Regions from separate parts of the Homo sapiens genome. Here regions 1, 2, 4, 5 and 6 are each linked to region 3. The links are contacts of gene promoters, found by promoter capture Hi-C in blood cells and fetal thymus (Javierre and others, 2016). All regions are on one chromosome and are shown on one strand. The core of a region is centred on a gene start or on the middle of the fragment in contact, and the rest is flanking DNA. Distances in the headings are between cores, read along the strand shown. Region 1 holds the start of SIKE1 (suppressor of IKBKE 1). Region 2 has its middle 4.6 kb from the start of CSDE1. Region 3 holds the start of HIPK1 (homeodomain interacting protein kinase 1). Region 4 holds the start of MAGI3 (membrane associated guanylate kinase, WW and PDZ domain containing 3). Region 5 overlaps CSDE1 (cold shock domain containing E1). Region 6 overlaps BCAS2 (BCAS2 pre-mRNA processing factor).

The links. Contacts are between HindIII fragments. The CHiCAGO score rates a contact against its expected background, and 5 or more counts as called.
Region 1: the fragment with the promoter of SIKE1 here is called in contact with the fragment with the promoter of HIPK1 in region 3 in 8 of 17 cell types (naive CD4 T cells, total B cells, naive CD8 T cells and 5 more); the score reaches 8.8 in naive CD4 T cells.
Region 2: a contact is called between a fragment that was not itself captured here and the fragment with the promoter of HIPK1 in region 3, in 3 of 17 cell types (total CD8 T cells, neutrophils and total B cells). The highest score is 5.4, in total CD8 T cells.
Region 4: a fragment that was not itself captured here is called in contact with the fragment with the promoter of HIPK1 in region 3 in 3 of 17 cell types (fetal thymus, naive CD4 T cells and non-activated CD4 T cells); the score reaches 8.3 in fetal thymus.
Region 5: a contact is called between a fragment that was not itself captured here and the fragment with the promoter of HIPK1 in region 3, in 1 of 17 cell types (total CD8 T cells). The highest score is 5.1, in total CD8 T cells.
Region 6: a fragment that was not itself captured here is called in contact with the fragment with the promoter of HIPK1 in region 3 in 1 of 17 cell types (naive CD8 T cells); the score reaches 5.5 in naive CD8 T cells.

Annotation. Positions count from the first base shown.
Region 1 is chr1:114,779,238-114,783,378 of GRCh38, reverse strand. SIKE1 (suppressor of IKBKE 1) reads left to right here and starts at 2,694. Exons shown (of 5, transcript NM_025073.3): 1 at 2,694-2,930; 2 at 3,164-3,269; 3 at 4,095-4,141. The coding sequence starts at 2,772. RefSeq lists enhancers at 2,312-2,431, 2,672-2,911, 2,376-2,941, 2,942-3,508. The HindIII fragment of the contact is 3,666 bases long and covers 1,571-4,141 here.
Region 2 is chr1:114,760,353-114,764,729 of GRCh38, reverse strand. No RefSeq gene overlaps it. Among named protein-coding and RNA genes, the nearest start is that of CSDE1, 4.6 kb to the right of the region's middle. The HindIII fragment of the contact is 499 bases long and covers 2,637-3,135 here.
Region 3 is chr1:113,927,708-113,932,099 of GRCh38, reverse strand. HIPK1 (homeodomain interacting protein kinase 1) reads right to left here and starts at 2,776. Exons shown (of 16, transcript NM_198268.3): 1 at 2,568-2,776. It overlaps HIPK1-AS1 (HIPK1 antisense RNA 1), which reads left to right and starts at 2,575. Exons shown (of 3, transcript NR_110726.1): 1 at 2,575-2,738; 2 at 3,712-3,856. RefSeq lists silencers at 2,046-2,355, 2,376-2,425 and an enhancer at 2,546-2,865. The HindIII fragment of the contact is 2,173 bases long and covers 1,691-3,863 here.
Region 4 is chr1:113,386,774-113,391,071 of GRCh38, reverse strand. It overlaps MAGI3 (membrane associated guanylate kinase, WW and PDZ domain containing 3), which reads right to left and starts at 557. Exons shown (of 21, transcript NM_001142782.2): 1 at 1-557. The coding sequence starts at 38. RefSeq lists an enhancer at 1-111 and silencers at 12-141, 552-911, 942-991, 1,981-2,225. The HindIII fragment of the contact is 1,038 bases long and covers 2,500-3,537 here.
Region 5 is chr1:114,718,617-114,722,786 of GRCh38, reverse strand. It overlaps CSDE1 (cold shock domain containing E1), which reads left to right. Exons shown (of 20, transcript NM_001007553.3): 17 at 2,070-2,248; 18 at 3,045-3,208; 19 at 4,042-4,170. Among named protein-coding and RNA genes, the nearest start is that of NRAS, 3.9 kb to the right of the region's middle. The HindIII fragment of the contact is 193 bases long and covers 2,611-2,803 here.
Region 6 is chr1:114,565,329-114,569,642 of GRCh38, reverse strand. It overlaps BCAS2 (BCAS2 pre-mRNA processing factor), which reads left to right. Exons shown (of 7, transcript NM_005872.3): 7 at 1,387-2,086. The coding sequence ends at 1,513. Among named protein-coding and RNA genes, the nearest start is that of BCAS2, 14 kb to the left of the region's middle. The HindIII fragment of the contact is 166 bases long and covers 1,837-2,002 here.

The sequences.
Region 1 (4,141 bases), core at 1,445-3,944, 850 kb before region 3:
CCAATATAACTTGATTCTGTACTCCCGGCTTTTCTTGATATGTGATTTTCGTTGTAATCAGGAAACTTCTCACGCAATTGCTCAGAGAGATGTATTCCCTTGCTATACTCATAAGCATGAATACACTCTTCTTGTGTCTGATTAAATTCAAGCACTTTTTTCAAGTATGACTTTCAGGTTACCTACATGGTCTTCCCATAAGGAGAAGCAGTCACACAGCAGAAGGGGTTTTTTGCCTGTGTAGTAACTTGCTTAAGAAACAAGATTTTAATGTTTTATCAAATAATTCCCATGCTCTCTTTAATGGGTTTTTAATTGCCTAGAAAAACTGAGATTTAAAAGGGTTCAGGTTTTTATGTCCTGGTAACCTTCTCAATTGCCTTTAAAGTCTTTAATTATCAGTTTGGTTAAATGAGTAACTATTATTTTTACAATGAATATTATCTTGTTTTGATCAAATGTTTTGAGGCTTTTAAAATCTTTGACCAATGTCCTCAAAATCAAAATCGTAAATTAAGTCTCTGACTTATTGCTGGGGTTTATCGAAGCTATAAAAATTAATCACTGCAAGGTTGTAAAATATTTTTACAGCTTCCAGTCAGGTCATAGACTCCGGTATCACACCTCCAGCTCCTTGAAAAGGTCCTTATCAGGTGATATTAACTAATCCTTGTGCTTTTAAGTTATAGGGACTTACACATATCTCATCCAAAGAAGGCATCAACTCCTGCCAGTATCTGACACTAAACTGCAATTAACCAAAGCCTCATCGTTAGACTCAGGCAAAGGCGACAAAGTAAACTGCTTTCATGAGACACAGGGACAGTCTTGTGTTCAAAAATATTAAGATTCATTTAACAATTCTGCCTCTATCTGAATTAATATAATTTATTCTGTGCCTTGATACTAAATAATTTAAGTGTTTAGCTACCTATGAACTTCTTTTCCTGTTATTCTCAAAACTAGGCAGGGTTTATGACCTTTGTGTTTGAAATGTTGTTAATTCTTTCTGTTTTGTTTTACCTACAAAAGTTGAAACTCTTCAATCCCGCCATGCCTAGAGACTATAACGTAATGTTGTAAGGGCCAGTATTGAGAGCTAAAATTAGTTCAGACCCTACAAATCAAGGATGACACAGATGCCAAAACAGCTAAACAAAATGCTTGCATTTTGTATAGCTAATTGCAACAAGCCAAGATTACAGCAGCTCAATGCATAGAATTTATAGATAAGTCAATTTTGTAACCCTTGCCTTTTGGTTTTTGCCTCTTAACATTGCTTAAGAGGGGTTTTAAGGTTAATGAGTGCCTGCCCACCTCCTTCCCATCTGACCTAGAACGTTTAATTGGCTGTAACTCTTTTGACTCTAAGTCAGTTGGCCGCAGGAGGGACATGATGGACTCAGGGCAGGTAGCACACCACCCTGGCATTGATATGGGACAAAATTAAAGTTTGGACACTGATACTGTCTCTGGGATACCTTGACCAAAAAAAAAAAAAAAGTGGAATGCTGTTTTGAAGGCATGAGCCTAGCCATTCCCCATCTGCGAGCATTTGATTAGTAAAGCTTTCACCACAGGTCACTTCTCATGTTTTTGGCCTCTAGGCAGCAAGCAGCCAGACGTGAGCCAGTTGCAATAGCAGCATTATTGACAATAGCAAAAGGTGGAAGCAACCCAACTGTCCATCCACGGATGAATGGATAAACAAAACGTGGTATATATATATTATTCAGCCTTAAAAAGGAAGGAAATTCTAACATATGCTACTATATGGATGAAACTCGTGGACATTACACTAAGTGAAATAAGGCAGTTATATAAATACAAATGCTGTATGATTTCACTCATGTCAGGTACCCAGAATAGTCAGATTTGTAGAGACACAAAGTAGAATGGTGGCTGCCAGGAGCTGGGGATAAGGAAGAATGAGGAATTATTGTTTAATGAGTACAGAACTTCAGTACTGCAAGATGAAAGAGTTCTAGAGATGGATGCTGATGGTGGCTGTATAACAATATGAATGTACAACTGAACTGTACACTTATAAATGGCTGAGATATTAAATTTTATGTGTATTTTGCCACAATTTAAAAAAAATTAAATGAAAGTAGGCCAGGCGCGGGGGCTCACACCTGTAATCCCAGCACTTTGGGAGGCCGAGGCGGGCGGATCACTTGAGGTCAGGAGTTCGAAACCGGCCTGGCCAACATGTGAAACCCCGTTTCTACTAAAAATAGAAAAATCAGCCGGCGTGGTGGCGCATGCCTGTAATCCCAGCTACTCGAGAGGCTGAGGCAGGAGAATCGCTTGAACCCTGGAGGCAGAGGTTGCAATGAGCCAAGATCGCGCCACTGCACTCCAGCCTGGACAAGAGCAAGATTCCGTCTCAAAAAAGAAAAAAATAATGAAAATAAAAAGAAACTAACTGTGACTGAAGAACAACCCACATCAATGAAAACCAGTAGGGAAAGGAGACCTTCCCACTGCCCAGCTAATCATAGCCTGACCACCAGGCTGTGGTAACTGGAAACCAACGGCGTGGCAAGTGTAGGTCTGGGGCTCCGCGCAAGGAAGGACTGCAAGGAAGCCGCAGGTTAAAGCGGGTCAACCCGCAAAATAGGCTGCCACTGCGCAGGCGCCCATTGCGCCTACCAAGACACCTTGTAAACGTGCCCGGAAATGACGCCTGTAATGCTGAGACAGACTCCCAGAAGATCTGAGCGAGTCGCGTAGCTGAGCCCGGCAGGGGCTGGGGTGGTGCTGCTGCTATGAGCTGCACCATCGAGAAGATCCTGACAGACGCCAAGACGCTGCTGGAGAGGCTACGGGAGCACGATGCGGCCGCCGAGTCGCTGGTGGATCAGTCGGCGGCGCTGCACCGGCGGGTAGCAGCTATGCGGGAGGCGGGGACAGCGCTTCCGGACCAGGTCAGGCAGAGGGTAGGAGTCCAGTGCTCTCGGATTCTGGGCACTGAAGGGTGGAGAGCGAGGTAAAGTGGGAACTCGGCCTGGAATTTATTCCCGGTCTCAGAGGGCGGCGGTGAGACCATTTTCCTGGGTCGGGGCTGAGAATCCTGCCCTGGAGCCCTAACTTCTGCCTCTTCAGTTGCATCTGCCGCTGTTCTCTTTAAGGCATGCTTAGTCTGTCTCTATTTGTCCAGTATCAAGAGGATGCATCCGATATGAAGGACATGTCCAAATACAAACCTCACATTCTGCTGTCCCAAGAGAACACACAGATTAGAGACTTGCAACAGGAAAACAGAGGTTAGTCAGGCCTTTTCATATCTGGTAATAGTTTAAAGTTATTGCAAAATTGCCCTAAACATTTACAAAAGTGTACATATATTTCCAGGTCAGTACTTTTAGTAGGAGAGTCCTCCTGATCTGGCCCAGTAACAATAAAGTTTGTTAGATTACCCTTTTCAAGGTCATCTGACTAATATTGCAGCAGCTTACCAAAGAGGTGCTGTGTAGAGTTGGTATTATTGCATGGTTTATTTTTAAGCATCCTCAGATGTGTAACAAAAGAGTTCATAGCCTCATGGACTTAAAATTTAATGTTTAAGTATTAATATAAACACTGAAGGTAAGATTTAAGGTTTTGTTTATGTTCTTGTTTGTGCAAGGTGAAGCAGCAGAATTTTATTCTAAGGGTATATATTCTTAGGCTTGATTAGTACATTATTAATGATTGTGGTATTAATAGTTGTTTACCAGAGGGGTTTCACATATATCATTCTACTGTATTCTCATATCTTCATTTTTATCTACCACAATGCAGTTAAGAAATAGGCTCAGAAGAAGCTAAATGATTTACTTATGAGTATTAACCAAGCAAGTTACAGAACTGAACTCAAACACATGTCTTCTGATGATACATCCATTGTTGTTTCTGCAAGACTTTGCTTCTCTGCCTAGAAAGTTACCTTTCACATAGACTTTAACTGTTCAGTTTTGCGGACTTAAACATTGATTTACAACTTTAGATTCATATTATCTATATAGTGTTACAAAATTCCAACTGTTAAGACTTTGGATTTGGGAACTGTCTCTCAGACATCACTGCCAAGTTCTTTTATTTTTTGACAGAGCTATGGATTTCCTTGGAGGAACACCAGGATGCTTTGGAACTTATC
Region 2 (4,377 bases), core at 1,637-4,136, 830 kb before region 3:
GACAAGGCAAGACCCTTCCCTTATGAGCCTATAAAATCAAAAGCAAGTTAGTTACTTCCTAGATACAATGGCGGTACAGGCACTGGGTAAATATACCCTTTCCAAATGGGAGAAATTGGCCAAAACGAAGGGGCAATAGTCCCCATGCAAGCCTAAAATCCATTACACCAATCATCAAACCTTAAAGTTCCAAAATGATTTCCTTCGTCTGACTTGATGTCTCATATCTAGGTCACATTGATGCAAGAGGTGGGCTCCCACAACCTTGGGCAGCTCCACCCCTGTGGCTTTGCAGGGTACAGCCCCCCTCCCAGCTGCTTTCACAGCTGGCGTTAGGTGTCTGCAGCTTATCCAGGCATACGGTGCAAGCTGTCAGTGGATCTACCATTCTGGGGTTTGGAGGATGATGGCCCTCTTCTCACAGCTCCATTAGGCAGTGTCCAGTGGGGACTCTGTGTGGGGGCTCCAACCCCACATTTCCCTTCTTCACTCCCCTAGCAGAGGTTCCCCATGAGGGCTCCACCTCTACAGCCAACTAATGCCTGGACATCAAGGCATTTCCGTACATCCTCTGAAATCAAGGCGGAGGTCCCCAAACCTCAATCCTTGACTTCTGCACACTCACAGGCCCAACACCATGTGTCAGCTGCCAAGGCTTGGGGCTTGCACCCTCTGAAATAATGGCCTGAGCTGTACCTTGGCCCCTTTTAGCCACAGCTGGAGTTGAAGTAGCTGGGACTTAGGACACCGTGTCCCAAGGCTGCACATATCCCAAGGCTGCACAGAGCAGGGGGTCTTGGGCCTGGCTCAGGAAACTATTTTTCCTTCCTTGGCCTCCAGGCCTGTGATGGAAGGGGCTGCCATGAAGGTCTCTGACATGCCCTGGAGACATTTTCCCCATTGTCTGGATGATTAGCATTTGTCTCCTCATTACTTACGCAAGTTTCTACAGCCAGCTTGAATTTCTCCCCAGAAAATGGGTTTTTCTTTTCTACTGCATCATCAGGCTGCAAATTTTCTAAACTTTTATGCTCTGCTTCCCTTTTAAATACAAGTTCCAATTCCAAACCATATATTTGTGAATGCATAAAACTGAATGCTTTTAAGAGCACCCAAGCCACCTCTTCAATGCTTTGCCACTTAGAAACCTCTTCCATTAGATACCCTAAATTCTCTCTCTTAAGTTCAAAGTTCCACAGATCTCTAGGATAGGGGCAATATGCTGCCAATCTCTTTGCTAAAGCATAGCAAGAATCACCTTTATTCCAGTTCCCAACAAGTTCCTCATCTCCATCTGAGACCACTTCAGCCTGGACTTCATTGTCCATATTATTATCGGCATTTTAGTTCCAAACTTTCCCACATCTTCCTGTCTTCTGAGTCCCCAATTCTCTAGGAATTTCCAAACCTTCCCACATTTTCTTCTTCTGAGCCCTCAAAACTGTTCCAGACTCTACCTGTTACCAGTTCCAAAGTCGCTTTCACATTTTCGGGTATCCTTATAGCAGTGACCCACTAACTCCTGGTACCAATTTGTTGTGTTAATTCATTCTCATACTGCTATAAGGACACACCCAAGACTGGGTAATTTATAAAGGAAAGAAGTTAAACTGACTCACAGTTCAGCTTGGCTGGGAAGGCCTCAGGGAACTTATGATCATGGTGGAAGGGGAAGCAAACATATCCTTCTTCACTTGGTGGCAGGAAGGAGAATGAGTGCTGAGCAAAGGGGGGAAAGCCCCTTATAAAACCATCAGATCTTATGGGAACTCACTATCACAAGAAAAGGAGCATGAGGGTAACTGCCCACATGATTCAATTACCTCCCATTGGATCCCTCCCATGACATGTGGGGATTATTCGAACTACAATTCAAGATGAGATTCAGGAGAGGACACAACCAAACCATATCAATAATGAAAATGGCTACATATTTTCTTCTAGAGCTTTAGGGTTATTTTATTTATTTATTTATTTTTAAATTATACTTTAAGTTCTAGGGTACATGTGCACAACGCGCAGGTTTGTCACATATGTATACATGTCCCATGTTGGTGTCCTGCACCCATTAATTCGTCATTTACACTAGGTATATCTCCTAATGCTATCCTTCCCCCCCTCCCCCATCCCACGACAGGCCCTGGTGTGTCATGTTCCCCTTTCTGTGTCCAACTGTTCTCATTGTTCAATTCCCACCTATGAGTGAGAACATGCGGTGTTTGGTTTTTTGTCCTTGCGATAGTTTGCTGAGAATGATGGTTTCCAGCTTCATCCATGTCCCTACAAAGGACATTAACTCATCTTTTTTTATGGCTGCATAGTATTCCATGGTGTATATGTGCCACATTTTCTTAATCCAGTCTATCATTGATGGACATCTGGACTGGTTCCAAGTCTTTGCTATTGTGAATAGTGCTGCAATAAACATATGTGTGCATGTGTCTTTATAGCAATGGCTACATATTTTCTTATTAGTAATCCATAAATGATGACCTACCATACAATCACTACTGCCTTGGATTCAATAAAATAAGTGAAATTTACTCATTCAATGAATATTGTTTAAGTATTTACTGTATACGTAAGTCACTGTGCCAGGTTTTGGGGATACAATGATGAACTAGAGAATTGAAGCTTATGCTGTAGTTCAGAGGGATGAGCAATAAACAAATGGAAACTGATAGTTTAGTGGGTACTTTTACTTTAGAAAAGGCCTTTGTAAAGTGGTTAACATTTGACCTGAAATCTGAATGATGAGAAAGTGCCCAAAGATTTGGGCTAGAACATTCCAGGCAGAGACAACAGTAAATTCATGGGCCTTGAAGTAGGAACAAACTTACAATATAGGAAGAACCAGTTAACCAGGGGTTAGAGAATTTGGTGGGGACTATATCATTCAGGGCCTTGAAGAGCACAGTAAAAGAGTTTGGATTTATGTTAAATACAATTGGATTTCATCAGGATTCAGTTTAAGTTAAATTATAAATATTCTGTTGCTCTACCCTTCCCTCTATTAACTGACTCCCAGAGCTACAATGTTAGATGGTTACTTTTGGTGCAGCATTTTAGCATGTCCACATAATTATCCTATTAAGTGCAATTTTAACATTTTAAAGGGAAGCATTATATAAAGCTTTTGCATTCTTATTTAAATTCTAATATTTTATTACATTAGTGGTATTATGTTATTCTTATTTATATAATGCCCTTTAACTGTTTAGAGGCTGGTTAAAGAATAAAAAGTTTTGGGTTGTAGGCCTATAGGACCAAATCTTAATTATTTACATTAATTCTTATGGAAATAATTCTTCTTTATGAATGTTTTTGCTCTAGAAGTATTATTTCTGTTCTGAAACCTTGGATGTGGACCTCTTTACCATGCACTATTATCATAATTTTATCTTATTTAATGAAATATTTTTTAAGACCTTGTCTCATTCTGTTGCCCAGGCTGAAGTGCAATAGCACGATTATGGCTCACTGCAGCCATGACCTCCCAGGCTTAAGCAGTCTTCCCATCTCAGCCTGCTGAGTAGCTGGGACCACACATGCATCACCATGCCTGGCTAATTTTCAATTTTTTTGTAAAGACGGGGTTTCGCTACATTGCCCAGTCTGGTCCGGAACTCCTGAGCTCAAGCGATCCTCCCACCTTGGCTTCTAAAGTCTGGGATTACAGTTGTGAGCCACCGTGCCCAGCCTATCATAATTTTATAAAAGAAGATCCTCTTTAGTTTCCCTAAACAGGGAGGACATGTCAGAATAAAAACAACTCTTAAAATCTGGAATAAATTTAGCCTTATTTAATTTTTTTAAAAAAGCTCTATATTGACCTAATTTTTCTCATTCGACAGAGAAATGACAAAAATCTCACCCACCGCTGCTCAAGAAAACCTTACAAACTGTAAGAAATGCTTACTTTTGATTCTAAAGTAGACTTCAGAGATAATGTACTTATTGATGATTGTAGAGGGAAAAAAAGCACACAATCATTATCAATTTCATTGTCTAAGTTTTTCAGAGTAGAAAACTAAATATGATGAATAACTAAAAATAATTTCTCAAATTTTTTTCTGATGGTTCCTTAACAGACTATCTTCCCAAAATCCATGTCACCCTGTTGCATAGGAGATGGTTTTCCAAAGTGATTTAACAAGTTTCTGATTTAATTTAAAAAAAAACATAAAAAGATAACCACATTTTTTCAGTTTTTGATTTGACTTCAAAATTCATCTGAAAAAAATCATTATGTAGTGATCTAATAATGAAACCTACTTCTGTTTGTGGGTTTTACTTGTAGAAACAGTAAATCATTTTAACTTGTGATTTATATCAAATTGTTCCACCTGTTACTTTCTTTAATGCATTAGAAGCTAA
Region 3 (4,392 bases), core at 1,527-4,026:
GGAGCTGGGTTCCAACAACTAAAGGGAAGATCAGGAACAAAAACAAAAGGAACCAAAAGACAAACCAGTGATTGTTGAAGTGGTACTTAAAGGAAAATAATCTTGATGACTTGTGTTCAGAATGGCACAAAGGGAGAGGAAGGGAAGATAACGGGAGGAATAATAGTAAATTTTTTTTAAAAAGACCTAAAAAATACAGACTGCTGTTATACACTCATGCAGGTGGCAGATCAAGCAGCTCATGTTTGCAAAATTACTTCAAATTACAAGACCAGTTACAATATATAACTAACAAGCTGCACAAGTTCCAAGTGTAAGAACTTTACAAGGCCGGTATGACTCACTGATTTGTACCAACAAATCATTGATGGAGCTGTGCTTATAAAAACAAAAGCACAGAATGAAAGAAGTTTATTTTCCAAAGAATTGTGAACTTTGAGATTATCTCTTCTTTTTTTTTCTTTTAGAAGGAAGTTCTGGTTTGGTTTGAAGTCTCAAGTTACCAACGAACTTGCTCAAAAAACCACAAAACTACAGTGTCGAGAGATAAACTATTCATGAAGGTATCACCAGCAAAAGTTCTACTTGCCAACCAGAGCCAGTATATTTATAAGATCTCATTCACCATTTTATTCTAAGATACTTTACTGGCTTGGCTGCCTCCAGTTCCAACCGCAAGTACTTTACTAAAATATCTTTCAAGCCAGGAACAGTATCTTAAAGTCAATGCCACCCTTCATCATAACAGTATTATAACACAGAACCCTGAGATAATTACATGTAAAGATCCAAAATCACCAGCTGAATAATGAAAATTAGGTCAAATGATTTGTTAGATTTTAAAATGTTTTATAGAAAGCTTTAGGCTTCCATATGAAAAAAGCTAGTAATAGTTTGCATTCTCTATAATCTTACAAAAAAAAAAAAAAAACCCACAGACCAGAGATCAAAAATAGCTTTACACAAACAAAAGGAAAATTGTAGGTTTGCTGAGGGCATCAGCCACTTAATTTAACCCTATTTCATCAAGAGCGGGAAGCCACACTGCTGTTTTCACCAGTTACTAAGAAACAAGATAAAGGACAGATTGGGACAGAGAGTCTATAGCTGAAAGTATTATGTTGATGCAATTACTGAGAATTCCCAAAGTGTCACTAATAGACAAGAAAGAGCATCTAGGACTGCCTCTAAATGAGTCTACCTACAACAGAATCAGTGATTAAGTAAAGAAAAGACTTACTGGAGCTTGGGGGTTTTCCCCCCCTCTTCCCTACCCGCATCCTCCCATCCTGAACCCCCCTCCCCAAGTAGGAAAGAAAGCTCGCCCAGCATAAACACAGGCCATTGCTCACAGCTCGTCACCACAACAAACTGGAGGTTAGACCAACGCTCCTGGAGACGGAACTCCACGTCTTGGTTGCTAAGCACAAAAAGGGGACTCTTCCCCACAGACCTGTGAACAGTGTGGGCCTTACCAGAATTTTGGTTGTTTCTCCACCTTCCCCCTCCCTTTTGTTTTTTTAACGAAAGCTTTGAAAGTGGTGGCAGCAAAAGTTTCCCTTTGGGCCAGACCTCTAGATCTCCCTTGTACAGATATACATTAGGTGGGCTGGTCTCACGTAGTCTCCACCGTCATTACGAATTACAAGCCTAACGACTACAGAACATCAGCGGAGACGACAGAAAAGCTTCCACACCCACCCCACTGTCGTCCTCTCCAGGCACGGCTTCCTGGTCCCAAACAGCACAAATAACCCAAAACCATGGTGATAAGCGGAGCTGTGAAGTACACACGCACAAGCCACACACTGGGAACCTGCCACGACAGCCGGGGAAAAAACCGGCCGAGTGAGGAGACGCAAGGCGGTCCCCTGTCACTTAAGGACAACACGCCCAGGCGAGAAGTGGCAGGAGGCAGGGGGAGTTGCCCCGAAAACCAGCCCGGAGCCTCCCCACCTTCCTGGGAAGGCAATCCCCTCAGCGGCAGTGAGCGGCCGGGCCGCAAGACGCGGCGCCCGGTCCCAGGCAGGGGCCCTTTGAGGAAGGCGCCCCCGGCAGGCTGGGCGCTCCAGGAGAGCCGGCGGCCGGCCCGGCCCCGCCTCAGGGAGCTGAGGGGAAGTCGCTCCCCGCCGAGGACCCCTCCTGCCCGTCCCCACTCACCGCCGGTGTGTCTGGTTCTCAGCCGCGAGCTGGGGCTGCCGTGAGGAGGCGGCGGAGGAGACGAGATCTGGGGCCCCGCAGCCGGGTCATCATACCCCCCGCGCGAGCCGGCCCGGGCCCCGGCCCCCGCCCCCCGGAGCCGTCCCCGCGCCCGTCCCGCAGGGGGAGCCTCCTCAGCCTCCCTCCCGCTCCACCACCCAGCCCCTTCCCGCCGCCGCCGCCGCCGCCTCAGCCCCGCGCGCTCCCGCCTCGGCCTCCTGCTGCCGTCCGGGGCTACCGCCGGGCCCCTTGCTCCGCAGCCGCCGTTGTCGCCAGACCCGACGAACGGAATGCCGAGCGGCCGTCCCTCAACCCGGCCGGCCCCGCCTCGCCGGAACTATTCACCCGCCCCGCGCCATGACACCTACTGAGGCGGAAGTGCAGCTGAATGGACTCTCTAGGACGATCGCATAGTACTGATTGCAGTAGGAGTCGGTGGGCCTCGAGTAGGTGGGCCTCCGTAGGGAGCCAGCGTGGATCGAGTGCGGGGCCTGGACTTCCCGCCCCCTCCGCACTGCAGACTCTGCGGTGATTTAAAGGTGCCTGGCGGTGGTACGGGATCCAACTGTAAAATGTCATCCCAGCTAGTGTGACATCACCACAGTTTAGTGTGACACCCCCAGAGCTTGGGCAGTGTACGGGACGACAGTGCCTAGCAGAGGAGCTTCACTGCCGGTGAGGGATTACCTCAGGTTAGGCTTTAATGTTTCGTTGCCGTCTAGAGACGTTCTAGCAATGTGACATCTGTGTACCATATCTGGAAGTCTCCCTGTACGTCAAGAGCCCCTTAGGGGAGTCTCCCATTGCCGCCGTGGGAACCTGTGTTTACATTACGAGGAGAGAGAATAGCTGTACTCTGAACTCAAACGCTCAAAACATGCAGTGAGCGAATGCTAGCATAATTTTCTTGCCTCTACCAGAAGGAAGGCTGGGTATTTAGGAAACAGAACGCGTTGGGCACAACATTCTGAGAAAATGGACACAGAAAATTAGGTTATCCTAATAGAAAAGCAGTTGCATCTCCCAAAGTCAAGAGATTCTGTAGGACTTCCGATGTATCTCCTGCTGTGTAAAATATTCAGGTTCCTGAAGTGGGGGACATTTTTAGGGCAACTGTAATTTCTTCATTTTTTCCATCCCACAAGTGCTGGAGGCAGCAGTGATCTGAGCTCTAGAAAGTGACTGTCCGTCACCATCGGTATTTGCATATACTCTGTGAGGAGAAGGGCAGTTGTGGCTAAGACAAAATTCTACTATCAAGTTTTGTTTCTCAAATCTCACTCATTAACATCTTTGATTTCCTTGGATCCCCATAACACACACAGAAAACTATGATTTGTGTAAAATGCGCTGAAGTACCTTTTAAGGGAAGTCATTTGGCTTTCTCTCTGGCTTAACAACACGGGGAGCAGTTCCATTTTATCTGGAACAGGGAAGTTTATTTCCCTAGAGAACTAGGGTTACCAAAAATGTTCGATCCCACAAGGCAGTTTTGTTTGCATATTTTCACAGAAACTTCCTTCTACTACTTAAAGTCCTCACATTGGGCTGACCTGGGAAACATGAAGATAAAAAGAGTGGGTAAACATGCCTGCTTGATGAGCCAGAAAAAAAGGCAGAAACCTGTGGTCTGGGTAGAACAGATCCTGCTCAGAATGTAAGCTTCAAACATGTTTATCATGCCTTGGTTCAACCTAACTCTCTGACATGTTCCTAAACTCCTGCTCTCTCAAGTTATGTCCCTTTCCTCTTTTCAAATATCTCTCAGAATTCACCCTTTCGGGAACCTTTGCTGATTGACTCCTATTTTATTTGAATTCTGCATCATCATCTGATTACTTAAATTAACCTGTACCTTCTTTATTTATACTTGTTAACTTCTATTTTCATTGCTCTTAGGTCCTCAGTCTTTCTCACTATACGGAGAGCTTCTTAAAGTCTGTATTTTCTCCTCTTTAGTATCATTCACTCATTCATCCAGCAAACTGCTTGTGTGCCTGCTCTGTGCTATACACTCTTCTAGACACTGGGTCAGGTATGAATGAGACAGGTGAATAAAGCATGGTCTTTTCCCTCAGGGACCTTACAGTCTAATGAGGAAAAAACGTGTGCAGACATATATAAGATAAGTGAGAGAGTCGGAGAAGAACATCAGAAGTGATATTTGAGCATAGTAAGGTCAAAGAAGTTTCA
Region 4 (4,298 bases), core at 1,769-4,268, 540 kb after region 3:
CTGAGCCAGTGCTTCTTCTTCTTCAGCGTCTTCGACATCCCGAACCCCGCTGCACCATGGGGGAGACCCCGCGCGGGCGGCCGGGGCGCCGCTCCGGCCCCGTCTCAGCCCGGGGGCCCTGGGCGGCCCGCGCAGCCCGGTAAGGGGGGCCTCGCCGCTCCGGCCCCCACCCCGCGACCACAGCCCGCTGGGGGCCCGGCCGTTCCCAGACGCGAGACGCCCCTTGGACGCCCCTCCCGGCTGCGCTCCCCGGGGCTGACCGGACTCCGCGAGGGCCACCGCGGGTTAGGCTGAAGAAAGGAAAAGGGAATTGTCCCCAGGAGGTTCCAGAAGGGGCTTCGGGCGGGGTCACTGCCGCCGGCTGGTCCCTGGGCTCAGCGCCCGAGCGGCGGGAAAGGCTGAGGCGGGGGGGCGGGGAGGTGAAGGGGGAAGAGCCGGGAACGGGAAAAATCCGTGGGGGGCGCGCAGAAGCGCGCGTAGACCCGTCGCGGGATCGATCGTGGCCGCTGCGGAGCTGTAGCGCGGAGACCAACGCCTGCCCAAGCTGCCAGGAAACTGCCGCTTTCAAACCAGCCGCAACCTCCTCCTCCTCCCTTTTCCCTTCCCCCGGCCCTCGCCCATCCCTCATCCAGAGCCCCGCCCCCTCCCGCCGCGCGGCGCCCGGCGCGCTGCCGTCACAGGCTGGGCGCTTGGGAACGAGCCCCGGCCCTGGACTCTCGCGCCAGGGATTGGCCCCCGGCGGGCAGGAGGCGGACCGCCAACGAGAATGGGGACCACTGGTTGGTCGGTGCGAGTGGAGGAGGCGGGCACTAGAATGACTGAAGTTTAGAGAGGGTGGAAAAAAGAAGTTTGGAGAGTGAGGGAGGGCGCAGAGGAGGGGCAGGGGAGTGGAAGGGGCTGTAGGTCGCAGGGCCGGGAGAGGCCCTCTGCGCGGCGGCTGGAGCCGAGGAAAACTCGAATCCGAGAGGGACCGAGCTCCCCGAAGTGGGGGCGTGGCCGGCGAGTTAGGCGGAGACGCGGGCGGAGCCTCTGAGCCTGTGCGGGGCGCAGAGAGGGGCCGGTGTGCTTAGATTGGAAGACAACGTGCGGAGTCCTGAGCCGGCCGAGGTTCCGGGGCCTTTAGGGTGGCCTGTTACAGCCGATAGTTTGCATTGAGTGGATATTGCTTGTTCATTCGTTCATTCAACAGATGTTACTGAACGCCCATTGAGGCAGGGCTTCGGAGTCCGGTTGATGAAAGATATTATAAAATAGAGTCCGGCACTGCTGTATGACCTAAGACAAATTAGACAACCTCTCTGAGCCGCAGCGTCCTCAGTGAAAAGTGAAGATTACAGAAGATGTACAAAATAACTGCATAGTGCCTGACAGTGGGTGGTTGCCTCTTAAAGTTTGGTAGCTGCTGCTGCTGCTGCTGATGACGATGACGATTTTGTGTTAGATATTGTGCTAGGTACTGGGATTCAAGGGTGAAGAAAACAGAAGCCCCGCTATTGAGGAGGTTACAGTCTAGTGGGAGAGACTGAGAAGTAAGCAGACTGCCTGAGGTGAGGGAGTGGGGTGGAGGTAGAAGGTGGATTATTAAGAACTAACCTGGTAGCCAGCAGATCTGGTTGGAGTCCTGACATGCTACTTACTTGCTGTTTGACCTTGGCCAAATCTCAGTTAAAGGAGGTGAAGGGAGAACGAACATTAAATAAAAGATATCGTAGATCCCTTCCAGCTCTAATTTTTCAGAAATTTCACTTGAGCTTTCTCTCTTCCCCGGCTTGACTTACACTCTTCCCTGTCTTTGGAATGCCCTTCATCTCATCTCTTTTAAAACTCCTATCCGTCCTCATCCCAAATGCCGGCTCTTCCAGGTAGCTTTCTCTGATTTCTTGCCCTCAAGTGGAAAGTGTTTTCTCTGAGCTATGATCTTTGTTTCACTTTTGCAGCATGACATTTATTTGTGTAGTCTCCTGTCTCCCTTTAATAGTAGGTGAAAGCCCTTATAAAACTCCACACCTCAGATAGACTGGACCAAGCTTCAATAGCTGCAGTGATTTCGTTGACACCATTGTATCAGTCAGGGTCCTGGCAGGAAACAAATGGCATTTTGCAAAGATGTGGGCAGGGTGTGGGAAACCACAAGAGAAGCTGGAACCCTGAGGCTACAGCTCCTAGATCTGTCCAATCGGGAAAGAACAGTTACCGAAAAATCCAGACACACAGGGCCACCTGACAGGAGTCTGTGACCTTCAGTCAACGGATGCAGTCAGCCTAAGTAAACACCCAGCAAAGGACCTGGGGGATTTATATCTAACTCACCACCCTCCTCCAGTCTCCTGCTGGTGCTTGTCAATGGCCAAGTCCAACCAGACGCCAGAGGGCAAGGGAGGCTTTTGATATAGTTCATATCAGTCAGTTTCAGAAAAGGAAACAGTGCATCTGAGGGGAAAATATTCAGCACAGACACCATGTGGATGGCTCAGATTTAACCATATCTGAGACAAAGCTTGGAGTATTTTTTTTCTAAACTACTACCTATACTAATGGATTCCTGGATAAAATCTCCATAACCTACACATCATCTGTTTTTGCAGGAACTCTGGGAAAACATCTTTCTGTGTCTAGATTGCATCTGTTAGAATGCCTTTGGCCTCAAGGAACAGAATATTTGGCAGTAGCTTAAAGCATGAGGTCATTTACTATATCTTCAATATAAATTTCAAGTGCAGATAGTTTCAGGGTTAGTTGAGCAGTACAATCATGTCATCAAGGACCCAAGCTCTTTTTTGTGTTTGCTCTCTGCCATCACATGCATGTGAGCTTTTGTCTCCAGGTTTGTCACCTCTTAATTGCAATGTGGCTGCCATAGCTCCAGACATCACATCCACAGAGGTCACTGCACAGAGCAGGAACGGAAGAAAAGGAAGTGCTGTCCCCCATTTTTATGAAGGAGAAAAATATTTCCCAGACTTTAGAATCTTCCTTATTGTCCAGAAAATGGTCATATGCCACATCAGACCAGTCACTGGCAAAAAGAGATAGGATTGGCCACAGTTCATTAAATTGATCACAAGTCACCCCTAAACAAAATGAGTGTTCTGACTGAGAGCAGAAAAGGGGAAATAGTTGCTAAGTAGGCATCCAACAGTGTTTGCCACATGCCTCAACCATGAATAAGTTGTATTCATTCTTGGGCAGAAAACTGCAGTGGTTCAGAGCTTGAGCAAATCAGACTGCAAATCCCAGCTTTTCTACTTACTGCAAATCCCAGCTTTTCTACTGCTAGCTCTGTGATCTTGAGCAAGCTATTTAACCTTGCCTATCCTCAATTTCCTCATCCACAAAATGGGTTTGATGACAGTGTTTACCTGAGTTGTTGTGAGAACTGTATGAAGCTATTTGAGTCAAGTAATTTGAGTCAAGCTATTTGATAACATAGGATGCAGCATAGAGCAAACAGTAAATTTTTATTTTAGTTTGTGCTAAATTGTACTATCTTTGACAAAGCTAAAAACATTGTATTAAATTCACCCATCTTAGTAAGCTTTGGTTCAGTTTTTAAAATATTCTAGAAATAAGCTACCCATGCTATTGAATTAATTCTGGTAGGATATTATTTTGGCAATTATTACATAAAGGGGTCATATTTTAAGCTTCTATCTCTAAAATGACACCTAATTAAATAATCGTATTGTATTCATGTTTATCACGACTTTCCAAAAATAATGGTTGGTTTAATAGTTGTGATTTCCATTGGGGAATATTAATAAACCAAACAACATGGAACAAAAATAATAAAAATAAATGAGGCAATTGAATTTGGTGATCTCCAAGGTTTCTTTGGGCTATCCCTATCTAATCTATCTAATCTATAGAGCTAGAGATAGCTATGTGTGTTAGGCCATTTTTGTGTCATTATAAAGAAATACCTGAGGCTGGGTAATTTATAAAGAAAAGAGGTTTAGTTGACTCACAGTTCTGCAGGCTGTACAAGCATGGCGCTGGTATCTGCTTGGCTTCCTGGTGAGGCCTCAGGTAGGATTCAGTCATGGTGAAAGGTGCAGCAGTGGCAGGCACATCACATGGTGAAAGTGGGAACAAGAGAGGGTGGAGGTGCCACACACTTTTAAACAACCAGGTCAGGTGTGAACTCACTCATCGCCAAGAAGACGGCACTAAGCCATTCATGAGGGATCCGTCCTGTCCCCATGATCAAAACACCTCCCACCAGGCCCCACCTCTGACACTGGGGATCACATTTCAACATGAGATTTGGAGGGGACAAATATCCAAAACATATCAATATG
Region 5 (4,170 bases), core at 1,458-3,957, 790 kb before region 3:
ACCCCTAAAAAGGCCATGGGAGTATGGACTACTAACTTTAACTCATAATATGATATCAAATTGCCCTTCCATCTCCTAACGTGCTGCTTTTACTTCCTTTTCCATCCCCACTTCCCAGTCCACTCATTCTTCAGCACTGGCTGTGGGATATAGTCCAAAGCAAGGGTTTTATTTAGGCATCTCTAAGCCTGGTGGGATATAGTCCAAAGCAAGGGTTTTGTTTAGGCATCTCTAAGCCCGGGACTAGACAGATTACATTTTCCCACTTGGTAAGAACTAGCTCTTTTATTCAGGAACACAACTGTAACTTATACTAAGACTTTGAAGTTGGGCAGACCTAGATCTGGACACCGTTCTAGCATATAATCTTGGACAAATAACTTAAATCTTTGCTAGCTCAGTTTCTTCATCTTTAAAATGGTAATACCTTCAGCCTTAGATGGTTCTATAAAGTATGAATCAGTATGTGCATCATAAATGGTAATTATTGATATTGCATGAGGTCAGACCAGCTTCCTCTAATCACTCTTCCCATGACTTGATCTCTTTGGATTATCTCCTCAAAGTTTTTTGGTTCCTGTATTTAAAATTAAAAGTCAGCTGGGGTCGAGAGTAGGGGCTCACACCTGTAATCCCAGCACTTTGGGAAGCCAAGGCAGGCAGATCACCTGAAGGTCAGGAGTTCGAGACCAGCCTGGCCAACATGGCGAAACCCTGTCTCTCCTAAAAATACAAAAATTAGCCAGGTATCATGGTGGGTGCCTATAATCCCAGCTACTTCAGAGGCTGAGGCAGGAGAATCACTTGAACCTGGGAGGCGGAAGTTGCAGTGAGCTGAATCATGCCACTGAACTCCAGCCTGGTTAACAGAGCATGACTCCGTCTCAAAAAAAAAAAAAAAAGTCAGGTGTGGTGGCTCACACCTGTAAACCCAACACTTCGGGAGGCCAAGGTGGGCAGATCACTTGAGCCCAGGAGTTTGAGACCAGCCTGGGCAACATGGCAAAACCCTGTCTCTACAAAAAATGCAAAAATTAGCCAGTCATGGTGTGTGCCTGTAGTCCCAGCGACTCAGGAGCTGAGGTGGGAGGATCACCCGAGCCCAGGAAATCAAGGCTGCAGTGAGCCGTTGATCGCCACTGCACTCCAGCCTGGGTAGCAGAGCGAGACCCTGTCTCAACAATAACAATGACAAAAATTCTTCACTTACCCTGTAATCATCAAGAGGATGGTTAGAAGCTTCTGCTTCCCACCTGTTTTTCTCATGTTTTCCACTATTGTTGACTGAGTACATTTGCCTGGATGCTGAAAATTGTTAGGCAGCTGAATTCTTTGGCATAGTTTTTATCTGTAGCCTGCACCGGGCTCCAGGCAACTTCATACTGTAGGGCAGGGCTCAGCATATATGGTGGCCTTTTCTTGTGATCACAGCCACAACCATTTGTTTACATATTGTTTTTCGTTGCTTTCTCACTACAACAGCAGAGTTGGTTAGACAGGATGACTTGCAAACCTAAAATAATACTCTCCGGCCCTTTAGGAAAATGGTTTTTGGTCTCTGATCTGGAAAAAGGAACCTATGTGAGGGAGCCAGAATTCGAACAAAAAAAAAGGAGGTGGGGTGTCAAATTTATCTAAATTGTTTTTGCCTGTGCCCGCCTAGTTGTTTACTGGCTCATTGAGTATGGGACAAAAGTATTTTTGGTTGGCTCATATTGTGAACTTGGGAAGAAGATAGTCCTGTGAATATTGGCAACCCATAGTGCTTAAAATTTAGGCAATGGGATTGTAAATGACAGTATTTTTTGTTTTAATTTATAAATGCAGTTTAAAATTGTTCATCAGCTAATAAAGTACTGATGGGAGCTGTGACATTCTCATTTGGTTCCATGGTAGTATTTAACATTTAGGATTTCATTTAAGCTTTAAGGTGAAACTTCTGAGTACTGAAAATGTAAATATATTTTAAGTAACATAACACATTTTTAGCAGTTATATAAACTTCCTAGGGTCATCAGCAGAGGACTGTTGTGAAATACTAGCTTTTAGACTTTGTACCTGTTTTACAGGCGATATGAAAGGTGAGGTCTATCCATTTGGCATCGTTGGGATGGCCAACAAAGGGGATTGCCTGCAGAAAGGGGAGAGCGTCAAGTTCCAATTGTGTGTCCTGGGCCAAAATGCACAAACTATGGCTTACAACATCACACCCCTGCGCAGGGCCACAGTGGAATGTGTGAAAGATCAGGTAAGTGCCAGCATCTCTGTATCTGAATTTGATCCTTCTATGAGTTGGTAACCAAAACCTTCAAATATTTTCAGCCAAGGGGAAATCATCAACATTCATTCGTTTTTTTATTTCTACTTCACCTTTTTTCAGTCATTTGAGGTAGCTTAATAAAAACAGAAAACTACACAAAAAGTGACTATATTAGCAATGAGAAAGTAAGATTGGTATTAGTAACTAATATTATGCAATGGGGAAAATAAGTTAGGGGTGAGATTTCCAGAATAGAAGGACTATATGGTTTTGTACACTTTTGCTTAGAGCTTCTTTTGCATATCACACAAACACAGAAACCACGTTCAAAAGTACTTAAAAAATAAGCTTAGGGCAAACAAACTTAGTCTTACTCCTGAGATCTCAGGGAAATCTGAGTCCTCAGAATGTTTTTCATCAGTACAGAGAATAATAACATTTTGTATGGCTGCTACTATAACCCAGCTTAATTCTAGAGGGGATCCAAACAATATATATGTTGAAGTAACAGCTTCCTGATGAGTTTGCTTAATTCAAAAAGCTTAGTTCATAATATACGAAGGAACAAGGCAAGTTTTATTTGTTTGGTTCAAGTTTGTGATATAGTGAATGGCACTTTCAGAGATACATTTCTTCCCTGACAGGTTTTGCCACAGGCAGCTGGACTGGAGTATCAACATTAATACCATGTTTTATACATCCTTTTAGATAGGGGCAGGCATTGTGCTTCATTCAGAGTGAGGTGTGGCATGCCCTCTCTTTTTTACCTACTTTTTTTTTTCAGTTTGGCTTCATTAACTATGAAGTAGGAGATAGCAAGAAGCTCTTTTTCCATGTGAAAGAAGTTCAGGATGGCATTGAGCTACAGGCAGGAGATGAGGTGGAGTTCTCAGTGATTCTTAATCAGCGCACTGGCAAGTGCAGCGCCTGTAATGTTTGGCGAGTCTGGTGAGTTTTGTTGTTGTGGTTTGATTAGTAACTACCCTGGAGTGTCTCAACTTTATAGTCTCTGTTTTGTCACATCACTTTTCTGTGCCTTGTCTTCTGCCACTTATTATTTCTTGATACTTCCTACTTCTAGTTGAATACAAAAAGATTGTTTAGTACATGTTTTTTAAAATTTTTGCCAAATTCTTCTTCTTCCATTAAGTCATTTCTAGGTTATATGCTACTTAAAATTCTAATAGTTTAGCCATGCTGATTCATAATGCCGCTTTGCTTCCCCAGAGACAGTCTCACAGTCTGATTCGGTTACCCAGGCGCTATCACGACTCACTGCAGACTCAACCCCCTGGGCCTAAGCAATTCTCCCACGTCAGCTTCCCCAGTAGCTGGGACTACAAGCATGCGCCACCACATGCAGCCAATTTTATTTTTTGTAGAGACATGGTCCCACTGTTTTGCCCAGGCTGATCTCGAACTTCTGGGCTCAAGTGTTCCTCCTGCCCTGTCCTCTCAAAGCGCTGGGATTACAGGTGTTAGCTACCACATCTGCTACCTTGTTTTTTTATGCATCTGTGGAACTGGTCACTCTTGATTGCATTCAAGTCTAGGGTCTGCAAATGATTCCTTCCATTCCTATTAAGTTGGGACCTTGAGTTGGGGATAATAATACATAAACAAACTTGTCTGTCCTGTCTTTCTAGCTAGGTATATGAGGCAAGAGTCCCATCATAAAAAGTGAGTCATTTGGGCAGTTAGGTGGAAAACACACTCCTTTGCAAGTGCTTGCTGTCTGCCCACCAAGTGTGGTTTCTTCTCATCTTTTGACTTAATTACAGTGAGGGCCCCAAGGCTGTTGCAGCTCCTCGACCTGATCGGTTGGTCAATCGCTTGAAGAATATCACTCTGGATGATGCCAGTGCTCCTCGCCTAATGGTTCTTCGTCAGCCAAGGGGACCAGATAACTC
Region 6 (4,314 bases), core at 670-3,169, 640 kb before region 3:
TAGTCCCAGCTACTCTGGAGGCTGAGGCAGGAGGATTGCTTAACCTGGAAGGTTGAAGCTGCAGTGAGTCATAATCACACCACTGCACTCCAGCCTGGGCAACAGAGCAAGACCTAGTCTTTAAAAAAAAAAAAAGGAAAAAAATTATTTTATAAAATCTTGTAGGGAGGGAGATTTCATACTTGGTAATTTTTTTGTACCTCAGGTTTATGCATTTTTAAAAATGTTCTTTTACATACACACATGTATACCTTTATACAATATAATCTTGAATATTTGTGTCATTTCTCTCTTCCTTTTTGCTTGGCCATTCCCTTTCTCCCTTCATTACTCAAGTCATTCTTGTTCCACCGTCTCCATGTACGTCTTACCAGTCTCGTTGGTACCCTTTCACGCTTTTTCCTCAATTTAATAAACTATTGCCTCTTTCCTTTTTGTTGATTAAATACTATCTTCATCACTCTTTCCTCTTTCTTCTGGTTTGCAAGTTCTCTCATCTGTTTCTAATTTGCTTTTTTATTAAACTTTTATTTTTAGATAATTATAGATTCACATGCAATTGTAAGAAATAATACAGAGAGCCAGGTGTGGTGACTCACATTGTAATCCTAGTGCCTTGGTAGGCCAAGGTAGGAGGATTGCTTGAAGCCAGGAGTTCAAGCCAGCCTGGGCAACATAACGAGACCCTGTCTCTACAAAAAAATGCTTTTAAATGAGCCAGGCATGATGGCATGCACCTGTAGTCTAAGCTCTTCAGGAGGCTGAGGTTGGAGGATTGCTTGAGCTCAGGAGTTCCAGGCTAGTGAGCTGTGATCACACCACTGCATTTCAGCCTAGGCAACAGAGCAAGACCCTGTCTCTGGAAAAAAAAAAAAAAAAAAAAAAAAGAATACAGAGAGATTCCATGTACCCTTTACCTACTTTTCCACAATTGTGCCTTGATTTTTTTTTAATGGAAAGTTGAAAGTGAAGGTTAGGCCAGGCATGGTAGCTCATGCCTGTAATCCCAGCACATTAGGAGACCGAGGTGGGTGGATCACCTGGGGTCAGGAGTTTGAGACCAGCCTGGCCAACGTGGTGAAACCCCATCTCTACTAAAAATACAAAAAAGTAGCCAGCTGTGGTGGCGTGTGCCTGTAATCCAGCTACTCGGGAGGCTGAGTCAGGAGAATCCCTTGAACCCGGGAGGCGGAGGTTGCAGTGAGCTGAGGTTGCGCCATTGTTCTCCAGCCTGGGCAACAAGAGCGAGACTCCGTCTCAAAAAAAAAAAAAAAGTGAAGGTTAGTGTTATAGCTCTGGGTGAACATGTGTATACATTTAAAATAAAATCTTCTAAGAGAAGTTTTACATTGAGTAATTTTTTTCTTTTCTTCCCCCCCATTCTAGTTGGGTATCCCTGGTCAGTAAGAATTATGAGATTGAACGGACTATTGTTCAGCTAGAAAATGAAATCTATCAAATTAAGCAGCAACATGGAGAGGCAAACAAAGAAAACATCCGGCAAGACTTCTGAAAAGACAATTTAGCAGGTAGAAGAAAAGTTGGGCTTTCACAAAAGGCATCTGAACTTTTAATGAACTTTGAAGGACAACAGCATCTTCCCAAAACCATTGATGTTTAAGTGTTTAGAAATCATAGAAGGTGTAGGCTGCTGTGGTAATTCTATTTGTATATCTCAACAGAATTAAAATGTCTAGCTTGGTGGTATTTTTATAGCCATAAAAGAAAATCTTTAGGCTTTCAAAATAAGGATGACTTTAGAATAATATTGTGTCATAGAATTAATTTTCAGCCATGTGGACCATATTTTGTATCCAAGGATCCTTATTTAAAGCTTTCAACATGTACAGGAAGTTGGAAATTTTTGGTTTATGACTTTGTCTAATAAAGAGATAGTTCTAAACACATTCTTGATCACCAAACAACTTCAGAAAGACAGTGACTGTACAGTTATCATTATCATCATCATCGTCATCATCATAGGTAACAGTTATATCAAGCTTAATATGTGCTGAACATTGTTCTGAACACTTTAGGTAGATGAACTAGATGTATGTGAATAAAAATTATTTGGTCCTCACAAAAACCTCAGGAGGCGGTTACTGTTTTTCTCATATGTGGACATGTAACAGACACCAGTTAAATAACATAACTTGCCAGAGTTTTATAGCTGAAAGTGTCAGCTTTTTTATAGAAAGTTGTCAGTCAGGTTTTGAACCCAATAGTCCAGCTCCAGAGTTAATGTTCTTACTTCTCTACTTGTAAGGAATTAAATTGTGTAAAAGATTCCTGCCCAATTCAGAAAAAATATTTGCAACATATCAAAAGGTAGTGTTGCTAGGTGTGGTGGCTCACGTCTGTAATCCCAGTGCTTTGAGAGGCTGAGGCAGGAGGATCACTTGTGTCCAGGAGTTCAAGGCCACCATAAGCTATGATTGTGACACTGCACGCCAGCCTGGGTGACAGAGCAAGACCCTGTCTCAAACGAAGCAAGGTAGTCTTAATGTATAAAGACTGACTGAAAATTATTGCAAGGTCAGTGGCTCACACCTGTAATCCCAGCACTTTGGGAAGCTGAGGTGGGCAGATCACGAGGTCGAGAGATCGAGACCATCCTGGCCAACATGGTGAAACGTCATCTCTACTGAAAATACAAAAATTAGCTGGGCATGGTGGCATGCGCCTGTAGTCCCAGCTACTCGGGAGGCTGAGGCAGGAGAATCGCTTACACCCAGGAGGCAGAGGTTGCAGTGAGCCGAGATTGCACCACTGCACTCCAGCCTGGCGACAGAGTTAGACTCTGTCTCAAAAAAAAAAAATTACTGAGAGGTGTTCATCTCAATAACTGATAAATATAAATTTGAAAAATCTAAAAATTATTTTTCAATTTTGAAAAAATAAAAGGATGTTCATTATAATACAAAATAAACCTAGAACTTTTTGATCTGTGATATTGATAAATGGTTAGTACTTTCGAAAGTACCTTAATACAATTGAGAGCCCCATTTCTTTTTGTTTGTTTGTTTTGTTTTGTTTTGCACTTGTTGCCCAGGCTGGAGTTCAATGGTCTGATCTTGGCTCACCGCAACCTCCACCTCCTGGGTTCAAACAATTCTCCTGCCTCAGCCTCCTAAGTAGCTGGGATTACAGGCATGTGCCACTTCGCCCGGCTGATTTTGTATTTTTAGTAGAGACGGGATTGCTCCATGTTGGTCAGGCTGGTCTCAAACTCCCTACCTCAGGTGATCTGCCCAAGTCAGCCTCCCAAAGTGCTGAGATTACAGGTGTAAGCCACCACGCCTAGCGAGAGCCACATTTCTGTGTTGAAGATAGGGATTGTAGGAATGAACGCATATGGAGTGTTGTCATCCATCTCTTCATTGCCCACCCTCGAACTTCTCTCAGAAGGAAATTGGAAGAGTTGTGGAGTATCTGACCAGCCTAAGAGAAAAGACCTACTACAGTTGTTGAAATTGAGAGTTTCCCAACAAATGACCAAGCCAGGACACAGAGCAGAGAGGCTCAACAAACCACCCCGCAACCAACACAGCTTCTAAACCGTGCTTTAGCTCCCGACTTTTAAACATGAATAGACAGTTGAGGATCACCAGATAAGGCAGTTCTACATTGTGAAAGATAAGGAGTAAAACAAATCTGGGAAAGACTATGGAGAAATAGATGATGCAAGAAGAAAAAAATTGTTTTTAAGAAATATATCCTCAGGTTGGGTGTGATGGCTCATGTCTAAATCCCAGCACTTTGGGAGGCCAAGGTGGGAGGATAACTTGAGCCCAGAAATTTGAGACTAGCCTGGGCAACGTAGTGAGACCCCCATCTTTACAAAAAATAAAAGAATTAGCCAGACATGGTGTTGTGCGCCTATAGTCTCAGCTACTTGGGGGGCTGAGGGAGGAGGATTGCTTGAGTCCAGGAATTCAAGCCTTTAATGAACTATGATTGTGACACTGCACTCCAGCCTGAGTGACAGAGCCGGACCGTGTCTCAAAAAAAAAATCCTCAGAGGAGATACTGCAGCCATAATAATATATAAGATGTTATTAAGAAACAGAACAAAACAGCTTGTCGAAATTAAAAAATATGGTAGCAGGAATTAAAATTCAATGGGAAAGTTAGGAATTAAAGTTGACACACTCAAAGAAAGTGGAGGCAACAAAGACAAACATGGAAAACAGAGAAGAGAAAATAGGAGGACTGGTCTGGAAAGTCAGTAGCCGAATAACCTGAGAAAACAGGAGGGAAGAAGTCATCAAAATAATTCAGAATTTTCCAGAACTGATTGATTGATAGAATTTC